Regions from separate parts of the Homo sapiens genome. Here all the other regions are linked to region 3. The links are contacts of gene promoters, found by promoter capture Hi-C in blood cells and fetal thymus (Javierre and others, 2016). All regions are on one chromosome and are shown on one strand. The core of a region is centred on a gene start or on the middle of the fragment in contact, and the rest is flanking DNA. Distances in the headings are between cores, read along the strand shown. Region 1 has its middle 67 kb from the start of TAB2-AS1. Region 2 has its middle 43 kb from the start of TAB2-AS1. Region 3 holds the start of UST-AS2 (UST antisense RNA 2). Region 4 has its middle 19 kb from the start of TAB2-AS1. Region 5 has its middle 19 kb from the start of TAB2-AS1.

The links. Contacts are between HindIII fragments. The CHiCAGO score rates a contact against its expected background, and 5 or more counts as called.
Region 1: a fragment that was not itself captured here is called in contact with the fragment with the promoter of UST-AS2 in region 3 in 3 of 17 cell types (naive B cells, M2 macrophages and total B cells); the score reaches 6.2 in naive B cells.
Region 2: a contact is called between a fragment that was not itself captured here and the fragment with the promoter of UST-AS2 in region 3, in 2 of 17 cell types (megakaryocytes and M1 macrophages). The highest score is 5.4, in megakaryocytes.
Region 4: a contact is called between a fragment that was not itself captured here and the fragment with the promoter of UST-AS2 in region 3, in 6 of 17 cell types (non-activated CD4 T cells, M1 macrophages, activated CD4 T cells and 3 more). The highest score is 7.3, in non-activated CD4 T cells.
Region 5: a fragment that was not itself captured here is called in contact with the fragment with the promoter of UST-AS2 in region 3 in 7 of 17 cell types (M1 macrophages, M2 macrophages, non-activated CD4 T cells and 4 more); the score reaches 7.5 in M1 macrophages.

Annotation. Positions count from the first base shown.
Region 1 is chr6:149,188,759-149,191,458 of GRCh38, reverse strand. No RefSeq gene overlaps it. Among named protein-coding and RNA genes, the nearest start is that of TAB2-AS1, 67 kb to the left of the region's middle. The HindIII fragment of the contact is 1,996 bases long and covers 416-2,411 here.
Region 2 is chr6:149,213,118-149,215,817 of GRCh38, reverse strand. No RefSeq gene overlaps it. Among named protein-coding and RNA genes, the nearest start is that of TAB2-AS1, 43 kb to the left of the region's middle. RefSeq lists an enhancer at 2,607-2,700. The HindIII fragment of the contact is 7,328 bases long and covers 1-2,700 here.
Region 3 is chr6:149,031,219-149,033,918 of GRCh38, reverse strand. UST-AS2 (UST antisense RNA 2) reads left to right here and starts at 1,258. Exons shown (of 2, transcript NR_134599.1): 1 at 1,258-1,394. The region is part of intron 7 of UST (uronyl 2-sulfotransferase); the gene reads right to left. RefSeq lists an enhancer at 665-854. The HindIII fragment of the contact is 1,599 bases long and covers 865-2,463 here.
Region 4 is chr6:149,236,978-149,239,683 of GRCh38, reverse strand. It overlaps a transcript of TAB2 not described here. Among named protein-coding and RNA genes, the nearest start is that of TAB2-AS1, 19 kb to the left of the region's middle. The HindIII fragment of the contact is 905 bases long and covers 847-1,751 here.
Region 5 is chr6:149,274,989-149,277,700 of GRCh38, reverse strand. It overlaps a transcript of TAB2 not described here. Among named protein-coding and RNA genes, the nearest start is that of TAB2-AS1, 19 kb to the right of the region's middle. The HindIII fragment of the contact is 3,443 bases long and covers 1-2,712 here.

The sequences.
Region 1 (2,700 bases), core at 164-2,663, 160 kb before region 3:
TTCCATGTGGATTTCTCATATCAGATTTTTTTTAACCTCTACAAGTTCTATTTGGATCTTTTTCATATCTGCTATTTCTTTTATCATTATCTTTATGTTTTATTTTATATCTTTGAACATGTTAATAAGATTTTAAAATCTTAATCTTTCAATATTAAATCTTTTAAGGTCCTTCTACCCATTCTATTATCTCTGGCATTTCTGAGTCTGTAATTGATTCTTCTCCTGGTTATAGGTAATCTCTTCTCGTTTCTTTACATGCTTTGTGATTTTTGATTGAATCTTAGCCATTGTCAATTTTACGTTGTTGAGTGCTCATTTTACTGTATTTCTTTAATGAATACCGACTTTTTTCCTTTTTAGCAGTTAAGTTACTTGGGATCAGTTTTATCTTTTTAAGACTTTCTTTTAAGCTTGTTATGGTGGGCCCACCACATCCTTTAGTTAGGGCTAATTTAGCCCCTCTACTCTGGCATCATGATTTTTGCCAATACATTGTTATTGGTTTTGCCTTGAAGACTTTAAAAATGTTTTATTCTTTAAAAAATATTTTTTATAAATAAATATATTTTCTTAAATATTAAAATTGAGGAAAAATGATCTTTTAAAAAAAAGTTTTCTCACCGGCTGCCTGGATATAAAGTTGGTGCTGTTGGGGGAGCACAGGGGGATTGAGACTGGCCTTTTTGGCTGCATAGGGGCTGGGTGAGGCCTGTCACTGCCAACTTTCCACCACTTCCCTGGCAACCTGTATGATGCAGCAGAGGCAGCCATAATCCCCCAGGAAACATAACTCTGTCAGCTGGAGAAAAACACCCTCATCCCCTATAGCAGCCACAGCAAGCCTTGCCCAAGGAGAGTCTGAGCTCAGACATGCCTAACACTGCCCCCACCTGATGGTCTTTCTCTACCTGCCCTGGTAGCCAAAGACAAAAGACATTATCTCTTTGAAGCTCTGTGGCTTCACCCATCACCTGGCCAACCTAGGGCAGGCTTGTATCCTCCCTGTACTACCACAGCTGATGCTGTCTTGAAAGCGCCACCTCCTGGCTGGAGGCCAATCAACACAAACCATTACAGCAACTCATAAAAGAACAGCCTTGTCCCAAGAAAGGAGAAAACAGCTAACTCTACTGCCTGTAACATCCTGGATAACCAGAGGTCCTGAGTCTGTCTACATGACAACTTTACTGCCAGGACAACCAGCATTAGAGAAAACCAGCACACTAAACAAAACTACAACAAAGTTCCCACAAAAAGTCCACCTCACTCCTCTGCTACCTCCACTGGAGCAGGTGCTGGTATCCACCTGAAGATGGATCACATCACAGGACTCTTTGCAGACACTCCCCAGTACCAGCCCAGAGCCTGGTAGCTCCACGGGGTGGCTAGAATCAGAAGAGAAATAACAATCACTGCACTCTGGCTCTTAGGAAGCCCCATCCCTAGAGGAAGGGGAGTGTGCCACATCAAGGGAATACCTGTGGGGCAAAAGAAAATGAACAGCAGCCCTTGAGCCCCAGATCTTTTCTCTGACACAGTGTACCCATATGAGAAGGAACCAGAAGAACAATTTTGGTAATATGACAAAACAAAGTTCTATTATGCCCCCAAAAGATCACACTAGCTCACCAGCAACGAATCCAAACCAAGAAGAAATATCTGAATTGCCAGCAAAAGAATTCAGAAGGTCAATTATTAAGTTACTCAAGGAGGCACCAGAGAAAGGTGAATACCAACTTAAAGAAATTTAAAAAATGTTACAGGATATGGATGGAAAAATCTCCAGAGAAGTACATAGCATAAATAAAAAGTAGTCACAACTTCTGGAAATGAAGGACACTCTTAGAGAAATGCAAAATACGTGGAAAAACCTCAACAATAGAATTGAACAAATAGAAGAAAGAACTTCAGAGCTCAAAGACAAGGCTTTCAAATTAACCCAATCTGACAAAGACAAATAAAACAGAATCAAAATAATGAACAAAGCCTCCAAGAAGTTTGGGATTCTGTTAAACAACCAAACCTAAGAATAATTGATGTTCCCAAGGAAGAAGATAAACGCAAAAGTCTGGAAAACATATTTGAGGGAATAATCGAGGAAAACTTCCCTGGCCTTGCTAGAGATTTAGACATCCAAATATAAGAAGCTCAAAGAACACCCAAGATATTCATCACAAAAAGCTCTTTGCCTAGGCACATAGTCATCAAGTTACCTAAAGTCAAGAAGGAAAGAATCTTAAGAGTTGTGAGGCAAAAGCATCAGGTAACCTATAAAGGAAAATGTATCAGATTAACAACAGGTTTCTCAGCAGAGACCCTATAAGCTAGATGGGATTGGGGTCTTATCTTTAGCCTCCTTAAACGAAACAATTATCAGCCCAGAATTTTGTATCCAGCGAAACTAAGCTTCACAAACAAAGGAAAGATATAGTCTATTTCAGACAAACAAATGCTGAGAGAATTTGCCACTACCAAGCCAACACTATAAGAACTGATGAAAGGAGCTCTAAATCTTGAAACAAAACCTCAAAATACACCAAAATAGAACCTTCTTAGAGCATAAATCTCACAGGACCTATAAAACAATAACAATGAAGAAAAAAAACCCACAGGGTATTCAGGCAACAATTAGCATGATGAATAGAATAGTACCTCACATCTCAATACTAATGCTGAATATAAATGGCCTAAATGCTC
Region 2 (2,700 bases), core at 50-2,549, 180 kb before region 3:
AAAAGTAGACTCAGAGAACTTAAATAATCTGTCCAAGACCTGACGACTCACAGCTGGCATGTGATATTGCTTGACCTTGAACCCCATCTTCTGAAATCAGTTTCAGAGCCCCTCTCACTATTGTTCAGCCGTGGGTGCCCACAGAATGCACAAAAAGGAAGTAAACACTGGTGGATGTCAAGGACTTGGGCGGAAATCATCCTACCCAAATTCCAGAGCTACTGGTTCAAATAAAATTTAAAAACAACAACAGTCCCTGAAGAGAAGTAACCTGTGCAGGAAAACCGAGGGGCCTCTCAGTGGGTGCAGATCAGGCCTGGACATGTAGGGGCTCAGTACACCCTTCTTTAGTAATGGAGACCTGTGGCTGGGGACGGTGGCTCACACCTGTAATCCCAGCACTTTGGGAGGCTAAGGCGGGTGGATTGCTTGAGCTCAGGAGTTCGAGACCAGCCTGGGCAACATGGTGAAACCCCATCTCGGCCAAAAATACAAAAATTAGCCAGATGTGGTGGCATGTGCCTGTGGTCCCAGCTACCTGTGAGGCTAATGAGGAAGGAACGCTGGAGCCTGGGAAGTTGAGGCTGCAGTGAGCTGTGATCATGTAACTGCACTCCACCTGGGTGACAGAGCCAGACCCAGTCTCAAAAATAAATATATAAATAAATATATTTTTTAAGAAAAACAGTGAAGGCCTGTGTTCCTGATGGAACAGTGAACCTAACCAAGAAACAGTTGTTAATTTATTCATTCACCCATTCAACTGACATGTATTGAGAGTCACACTGTTCAGATGCAGGACACAAGAAGGCTGATGTCCAGTGACTACTTTGCAGTCAGGCCAGCTGAGGGTTTACAGATGGGCATCCCTTCTGATGGGTTGGAGTCTATGCCAGACCTGTTGTTAAATAATTTGGATACCACCACTAGATATAGTAATAAACAAGTTCCTGCCCTTGGGGCCTTATACTTTCATGAGGGGAGAGAGCTGATTTAAAGTCAGGCAGTGGTAAGAGCCATAATACCAATAGGACAGGGTGATGTGATGAAGGTGCATTAGGCATGGTAATCCTGAAAGGCTTTTCTGAAGAGGTGATATTTAAGCTGGCATCTAACATCAGGAGGGAGCCGGCCTCTGCAAGAAGGGCATCTCATGGAGAGGGAACAGCCACTGCGAGGGTCTGAGGTGGGAATAAGGCTGGTGTGTTTGAGACAGAAGGAAGTTCAGTGTGACTGGAGCACAGAGGGTGCGGGAAAGACAGGGGTACACAGGAGGAGTGGGGAGGGTGTGGCTGATTCACACAGGGCTCTGAAAGTGTTTGAAATTTCCTCTAAGTTTCAAGGAAACCATCGGAGGGTCTTAAACAAGGAGTGACATGATAGGATTTATGTTCCTAGATGATCACGTGGGTTGCAGTGTGGAGAATGGATTCTAAGGGGGCAAGACTGGATGCAGGGAGACTTGCTGGGAAGTTTTATAGTCATCTGGAGACTGTGACATGGACTGTGGAGACAGCCATGGTGATGGAGTGAAGTGGATTGCTTTGGGCTATATATTGGGTATGGAGTTGACAGCTGATTTGGACATATTGGAAAGGGAGAGGAATTGTGTTTGCCTCCGAGTTTTCGGGCCTGAGCAGTGAAGATGGAGAAGAGCAGGAAAGAGCAGGTTTTTCTGTGTCAGATAAGTTAAGTTTGAGATGCCTGTTAGATGAGTAAGTCAATGTGCTTTTATGTGCAAGACTTGTGGTATAAAAAGTAAACTACATAGATAACATGAAGAATCTCAGTCACATGATTGTAAAGGATTTCTTAAGGCTATTGCTGTGTAAGTGTGATAACATGTCAACACTCAGGGAAACTCTAAGGTGGTTATTAATTTTGGAGGCTATGATGTGCGCAGGAGAGTAGTAGAAGAGATACAGGAGAAGCTGGTGAGAGCCAGCTCATGAGAAGCCTCGTAAGGAGATGATGGGGGAACTACTGAAAAGATTTGAATGAAGAATGATGTGACCACATTGAGTGTTTTAAAAATCATTGTGAATGCAATATGCAGGAAAGATTGGAGGGACGTGAGGCTGGAGTCAGAGTGAACAAGGAAGATTTATTGCCATTGGTCCAGGTGATGGATGACAAAAGCTGGAACTCAGCTGATGACCACACAGAGGAAGCAGAGTGAGCAGATGCAAAAGATTTTCAAAAGACAGATGTGACTGTATTCGGGGATCTTTTGGCTGTGAGTGTGACAGTTTTCAGCGTGGGCGCCTGGGTAGATGCTGGGGCAATCAAATGAGATCCAGAGCATAGGTCCATGAGGACAGGGGTGGATCTTATTCTATTCTGTTTTTCTGGTGCCAACCCTTGTGCCCGTTTTCACTCTGAGGAGCTGATTGGCTTTAGCCTTTCCACTAAGTTCTTCCTCATTCAAGAAAGCCTTGTTCAATGAATTAGCCGAGAGCTAAATGGGATACCTGGGGCAACAGCAACATTTAAGAAGGCATTAAAGAGACTTGGTAGGTGTTAGGGGAACCAGAAACCTGGAGAACCAGGAACCAGCAGAATGGAAAGTGAAGAAATGGTCAACAGCCGTACTGAATGCCAAGGGAAGGTCAAATGAGACAGGGATTTACAAGTGTTCTTCAGGTTAAGGCAGCAGCAGTGTTAACCAGAGCAGCTTCAGTGGTGCAGCGAAGGTGGAAG
Region 3 (2,700 bases), core at 9-2,508:
CATCAGACTTCATCTTTGGGAGGGTTGGAATAGGAAACTGCTGGTTTTCATTATACATCTTATAGGACTATTTGATTTTTAATTATATACATGCATTACTTAATAGATATAGCAAAAAATGCAGGGAGGTAAAATCCTAGGAACACATGTTTTGAAAAACAGTTCTGGTAGAGTCTGGTTGACAATGCAGCAGAAGCATCTAGAAGCGTATGCTATGGTAAAGACGAGGGGCGGGGTGAGACCTTCAAGTCAAGTGAAACTACCCCACCTGACAAACAACCCTCTCTTCTTCTCATCAGTGTGGGATTATGTTGGATTTTTCTATGCGTTTGTAGGTAATGAAATGAACGTGCTTACTAGAACCCACAAGAAACCACACATAAAAATCCCCAGCAATGTTATATACACAGGTATATTTCTAGCTTTTTGCTGTATTCTTTCACAATTCTGTGCCATTTGCAAGATGTGAAAAGCTAGGACATTATGTATTGATAAAAATGTCTGAGACATGAAAAATATACAGACCAAGAAATATTTTTATTTGAAAAAGATTTAGCCAGACAAAAATAGAAGCTTCCATTATAAAATGTTGAGTCATGCAAAATGGGTAAGGATTGTACTTCGCCCCGGCAGGGGGTACATTTTATAAGCAAAGAATGTCAGAGAGCTAAGGCCACGAGCCAAGGGCCCAAAGACAGTTTTGAAATCCTTTGTCTAGTGCTCTTTCCACATCACCACATTAATTCCTGGGGTGGACAGGGACCTTGACAATTTAAGCATAAAAGAACAAACTGACCACAAGGTCGTTTTTATAAAGATCAACCATCAACCCCTGGGGTCAAGTTTCCAATCTTTGCTCAAGCTTTAGAAGCCTTTCAGCTTTGTGGCGTTATCAGGAAAGTCCAAAAATTGAAATTTGTGGTGACTAATTCCACCCCCTACAAATACTCAATGCAGAGCATATTACTGTCAGCTCAGCTAAAAACTGCTCAAAGTAGAAGTGATTAAATTCTAAAGTAGAAAAAAATTCACCTCCAAACACAGAAACACACTGGTACCTCCCCCGCACACCCAGATATTATTAGCCAGCTTTTTGCCTGGGGAAATGAATCATGAGACAGAAAACTGTACAACCCCCAAGTCTGACCACACTGAGTAACTGGGGTAGACACAGAGGGGGGCATCTGGGGCTCTCCCGAGGCCAAGGTTGGGACCCAGAAGAGATGAATTTCCCTGGGTGCACAGGGTGGGAGGGAGGTGGGGCTGGAAGAACTTGATCTGGAGGGATGATCCCGAAGGCTCCCAGTGAAGAAGGCCAGGAAGAGCAGAGGATGGTGCCAGGAGGATGATGTCGGGGGACACAGGCAGCTCATGCCTGGATCAGGCAGTGACTGGTAACAGAAGGAGAGTCCATGCTGGTGGGCCCAGGGGAACATAGGTGGTCAAGCAGGGCAGTACTTGGTGTCTGGGGATGCAGTGTGCGACCTCCTGTATTCGGTGCGAGGCACATGGGGCCAGCAGGAGCTGGTGTGAGCCCGGGTCTGAAGGGTGGTGGGATCTTAGTGGGGAAGACTGGGAAGACAGCAGGGAGGAAGAACTCAGGCTGGAGGAGGATGGGGGCCTGGGAGGATCCCTGCCACACTGTTAGGAAGCCAGGGAGCTTGGGTGGTGGTAGGATGGGAAGAGGGCAGGGAAACGGGGGGAGGGTGACACAGGCCCTCCGGCAGCAGCGGCTTGGCCACTGGCGCTGAGATTGGTATGAGTGACTCAGTGCCAGGTTGCGCCACAGAAAGCTGAGGCTGCGGATCCTTCTCCTGCCTCTGGTAGGGCCGTCTTAAAGGCAGGGTGAGTGAGCCTGGCTCCAAGAGGCTGGGTCCGCAGGCAGGGGCTGACGTGGGCTGGCCCAAGCCCCAGCTCTCCTCACTCTGAGTGCTTCTATGCTTTCTCACCTCCACGCTTCCAATCATGTTATTTTCCTCTTATTAAAATGCCTCCTTCCACGTCCACTTGGCAAACTCCTACGCACCCTTTAAGGCCGGGCACAAATGTCTCCACAGGGTTATGCGCCCCAGCCCTGTTAGTGACGGCCTTCCAGCTAGACAAGATTTTCATCTTTATACTGCCCTTCCCCAGGAAAGGGACATCACAGACACTCAGCTATTTATTTGCTGGAGGTGTTTGTTGAATTTTTCTGGTAGTTTCAGATTACACCTATTTAAATATTAGTTTTCAGAGAAGAGAAATATTTTTGTAAAGTTATTCCTAGAACATCAATGTCTGTGAAGGAAGTTCTATTTTCCTGTTAATCTTTCATAATAAAATTGGAAATGCTTTCTCCTGGAGGAGAGATGATCCCAACGCAAGAACAAATCAGTAAGCAAGAGTAAAACATGTTTTCCAATAAAACAAAGAGTAATAGTTGAAATAGGCCAAACGCACATATATTATGCTGCAATTTAAGCTTTCATAAAGTAAATTAAACAAGCCTAGAGGCTGAATTCTTGTGAATTGGTGATGTTTCTGTAAACTGAATGATGTTATCAGCCTGTGGTTATACAGTTCCCCTCAGAAAAATGTTCACTAAAAAAAATCACAAGTGTTTAGAAGTTAAAGGGGTTTACATTATGTGTTCATTTTTAATGAACTATTTGCCCAGTAGCTACAGCTGAACCAGTTATATGCCTTCAGCTTAGACTTTTT
Region 4 (2,706 bases), core at 50-2,549, 210 kb before region 3:
TAATTCACCCCTTGTTAACACTATTGAAAAATAACAAGAGAACAAAATAAAGTGTGTAGAAGCAGCTCGAATAAAATACAGTTGGGTTTTTCTTGCCAGTACCTAAGCTCACTAAACTGAAGTGAAATATCCCAACACCATGTCAAAACATTTACATATGCTTTTCTTGTGGAAAGCCTGGGATTATGGCAAAGCCTCAGCCACAGTGCTTAGAGCACCTTTGATCACCGTGAATTCTAGACTTGTCCATGACCTCGTTTTGACAGTGATGTTGTGGCTGGAGTAGAGGTCTGCCCATCAAATGGCTTAGCCTCTGCTTCCTGGCTCTGTTCCTGACTCAGGTGACCTCACCACATAATCTCAGTAAGCTCTGGTCATGGCAACTCCAGGCCAGGTTTAAAGTCACGGTGACCAAGAGGCTAGGCCCAGTGTTAGCTTGGGCTTGTCTATCAAGCGATCATATGACAATTGTGTTGATAACAGCCAGACATGCCAGCCTCATTGGAAGCACAAATGCTCTGCCTGTGTGGTATCTGCAGTGATCCCTTTCTAAGAGTCACTTGAGTTTTAGATGGAGAATACATTCATAGCTGGATATCAGTTGGTGAGGCACTGGCATTCCACAGTCAGTTGAGTTAATCCCTTGTAGAGGTCCCAGAGATATTTCCACTGCCGCTGTCTTCTCTTCTAAACTGGTCATCAGAATATGATAAATGTGAGTTTTACTGCTAAGATTAGACATTCCCTCAGCCCTAGATCTGTCAAGTGGGATGGTTTTGAACATGAACATTGGCGAAGGCTCTGTCGTCTAAGATGTGACAGTCTCCATGAGTAAGTCAAGAAGCTTCCTTTGAATGGGACATCCGGCTGTGCTCACATAGCCTACAGAAGGTAGCAAAGGCAAGTCTGTGTTTTAAAAGAGAAAGAGAATATGCCCCGAGCAGCCTCAGACAGCTTCCGGGATGTGCAGGCTTTGCTCTTCAGGTCTCACAGTGATTCACAGTGAGAATCACTTTGATCAGACATGGTTGGTGTGGCAACTGTTAAGTATCGTGGTGGACATGGTCATCCTTGGAGGAGCCGGGGAGCCATGATCTTGTGCCATTCTGGGAGGCCAGGGCCCAGGGCAATGGGTGTTTGTCTGGCCAATGTCCTTGTTCAGCACTGAGCCACTGGGCCAGAACATGTAGGGTGAGTCTTAATTGCAGGAAGTTTGAATATAGTAGGTTTGCTGTGCCTTGTGGAGATGTACCCCGATTTGGAACCCCAGAGAAGCTCAAGCCAGGAAGCAAGCCCACCCTGTGTCTCCTCTCCCAGGTAAAGAAAAGGGAGAAAAGGGGTACAGAAAGGTAGAGAAGAAGAGGAGCCAGATGCCCTCTAGAGCAAGAGAAAAGAAACCCAGACTTTTGAAGATGCCAGGGGGTCTTGGAAATGCCAGTGATTCCATGTGGAGTTTCCTGGTTCTTAGTTACATTTTTGTTATTTCACTGGACACGCAGACTGGGCCAGGCACCGTGCTGGGTGTTGGGAACTCCAAAGTGATGGGAGACAGGTCCCTACCCATGGTGAAAAGATCTCTCCCCAGGAAAAGCTCACGAATTAGTGAAGGTGGGAGCCAGGCAAACATAAGTAGGTGCTAGTAGAAGGTAGGCTAAATACCACGGAGAGGAAGAGGAAAAAGGAACAAAGTGCTATGGGAACGCTGAGTGTGGGGTGCACACACTGTGGGGCTGGGGAGCAGGTAGAAAGCTTCACGGAGAAACAAATCTTAGAGCCAAGTTTTGAAGAAAAAGTGGATGTTTTTCAAACAAATTGATTTGGAGTGGGGTGGCGTGGTGCTTGGGGCAGAAGGACCAGCAGAAGCCTGCTGGGAACAGGCATCATTGCTCATCCCTGAGCCCACTATGCTCGGCAGATGGCCAGCACCCACAGTGGGAGGGGACTGGCTGTCAAAAGTGATGCCGTTAGGTGTGGGGCACCCTGGGGTGTTCCAGGAGAGGTGAGTTCTAGGAAGTAGTAGCTGCCAGCCACTGAGGTGAGGCCGCCTAGAGGACGGATGAGGGGTTTGTTGTTAAAGCATGGGTCTTAGGAAGCCATTGAAGGTTTTATAAACAGGAGAAAGGCAGGACTGACTGCCTCTCCACTTACGCATGGAAAGAGGCCTGGATTTGGCACCTTGGTAGCTCCATTGTATCATCATGGGGGTGCATAGTAGATGGTGCACCTGTGTGCAATGCCTCTCAGGGTGAGGAGGCCAGAGCTGGAGAAGAGGAAACCAGCATCAGGGACCACATTGCATCTTCAGGGACTTGCTCCTTAACAGATGTGAAAGTCCTTCAGGAGCCTCCAGAAACACAATGCAAGAAGACTTTGCAAGAGGTGGGATTGTACATTAGCAAGTAGGGATGAGTAAAATAGAGGAAGAAAAAAATGAACTTCTGTATAGATTTAGTTTCAAAGAAACAAAAGGAAGCTCATGTATTATCCATGGTTTTTGTCTCATTCTGCTCACTTAGCATTATTTCAAGAGCACCTTTGTACACCCTTATACATATTATTTCTTGCCAAATTCCAAGGAATTCTTTATGCTCAGATATAACACTTCACAGTGCCTAACACGATCCACGGAGGGGATCGCCATGCAAATAAATTAAACAATTTTACTTAGGCCAATTTAAAAAATAAAGAGAGTTGGGAAGATAAATG
Region 5 (2,712 bases), core at 175-2,674, 240 kb before region 3:
AAGGTAGAGTTTAAAAATGTATTTGATTTTTTGAATAGGTATTATAGTACCTATTTATGTAGTTCTAATATCAAAAGGTATAAAAAAGTATTCAGTGAAAGTAGACTCTTGTCTTTCATTTGCCCAGTTCCTACCCCTCACCCCATCTCTCATCCCCAATTGGTAATCACTGGTGTTAATATTTGGTTTGTCTTTCCAAGCACTTTAACATATATTTATGAACCAATTTCTATCTCCCTTTTATATTAATGATATGTCTACTACTCTGCATCTTGCTTTTTATCTTAACAGTATATTTTAAAGATTTTCTGTATCAATCTATAAAGAGCTTATTTGTTCTTTTTTTAAAAAAAATAGCCACATGGTATTTCATTGTAGGAATGCATCTTATTTTATTTAATCAGACTTTTCATTTATAGACATTTTCAATCTTTTGCTATTACACACAAAACTGCAATGAATAAACTTATACTAATGTTATTTGCATGTGTATTAGTCTGTTTTCATGCTGCTGATAAAGACATACCCAAGATTGGGTAATTTATAAAGTAAAGAGGTTTAATTTACTCACAGTCCCACATGGCTGGGGAGGCCTGACAATCACGGTAGAAGGCAAGGAGGATCAAAGTCACATCTTACATGGATGGTGACAATCAAGAGAGAATGAGAGCCAAGTGAAAGGGGCAACCCTTTATAAAATAATCAGATCTTGTGAGACATATTCACTATGAAGAGAACAGTATGGGGGAAACCACCCCCATGATTCAATTATCTCCAACTGGGTCCCTCCCACAACACGTGGGAATTATGGGAGCTACAAATCAAGATGATATTTGGGTGGGGACACAGCCAAACCATATCAGCATATATGTGAGTATCTCTGTAGGATAAATTCCTAGAAATGGAATTGTTGAATAAAAGATATAATCATTTATAATTTTGATTTTGCCAGATCGCCTCCATTGGGGTTTTACCAATTTATGTTCTCACAACAATGTATGAAGGTGCCTATTTTTCCACAGCTATGCCAATATCACTTTTGGGTTTTTATGAATGTGATAAAAATACTATTCCACTTTATATAATTCCTCTTATGAGTGAGGTTGGACAGCTTTTCAAGTGTTTAAAAGCTGAAGGTAGGATTTTTAAAAATATATAATTGATTTATTGACCCCTAAGAAATTTGGAGTTTATAGGGAAGTTACAGAAGGAAATTTTCAAATCATTTAAACATTTTTAGCCATCAAATTCTTGTTAAAGTAAATAGATGTTTCTTAGAATCACTGAGTACAATGTCTCATCGCTAGCACATTAATATCTCCTGGATAACATTTTGGGCTTCCAATAGAATACAAACCAATATATAGAGGTATAAACCAATTAACATATTAATACTCTTTCCAGACATTATTACCACTAAGCTATATCTGCCTTTGTGATAAATTGTCCAATTTTTAGTCCATTATATTCATTTCTTTGAGGCTTAAAATAAACCCAAGAGCCTTCTATATTTTAAATAAAGTTTATTTTTTGAATAGTTTCAAATTTACAGAAAAGTTGTGAAGATAGTAGAGTTCTCATATACCCACACCCAGTTTTCCCTATTATTAACCTCTTACGCTGGTGTGGCGTATTTGTTACTATATGAACAAATATTAATACATTATTATTAACTAAAGTCCATACTTTATTCATTTCTTCAGTTATGCCTAATGTCCTCTTTCTGTTTCAGGATCCTACCCAGGATACCACATTACATTTAGTCATCATATCTTCATAATCTCCTCTAGGCTAGCAGTTTCTCAGATAACCTTGACAGTTTTGAGGAGTACCGATCAGGTTATTTTGGAAACGTCCCACTGTTGGAATTTGTTTGATGCTTTTCTCCTGATTAGGCTGGAGTTATGGGTTTTGGGAAAAAGACCACATAGTCAACGTGAGAGTCTCATCACATCACATCAAGAGCACATACCATCAACATGACTTATCACTGTTGATGCTGAGTTTGAACACCCAGATGAGGTAGTGTTTGCAGGTTTCTCTACTGAAAAGTTACTTTTTCTCCTCCCTTCTGTAGTATAGTGTTGAAAAAACTCCCTCTGCACAGCTCACAGTTAGTGAGTGAGAAGTTATGCTCTACCTTCTTGGGGAAGAATCTACATAAATTATTTGGAATTATTCTGCATGATAAATTTGTCTCTTCTTCTCCATAAATTTATTTATTCAATAAGGTATATACATCAGTATGGTCTCAAGGATATTGAGTTATCATTCAACTACTTTATTTATTTTGTTGCTCAAGTTGTTCCTGCCTTGACCATTGGAGCTTCTTTCGTTGGCGAGTGCCTGTGTCCCTTTGAAATACCCCATCCCTCATAATTGTGCTCTTTTCTTTTTTCTCTTTCTTTCTTTCTTTCTTTCTTTCTTTCTTTCTTTCTTTCTTTCTTTCTTTCTTTCTTTCTTTCTCTCTCTCTCCCCCCTCCCCCGCCCAAGGGAGTTCAAGGCTCAGTGAGCACCACTGCACTCTAGTCTGGGCAATAGAGCAAGACTCCAACTCAAAAAAAAAAAAAAAAAACAGAAGAAGAGAAAAAAAATTAGGGAAATGAATGGGATATTGTTACAATATCAGTCCACACCTCCAGTTCTTTGTTTTCTTCATCTAACTCTAAGCCCTTGTCCTGCAGTGGGGTGGAGAGAGAAGCCAGACATTCT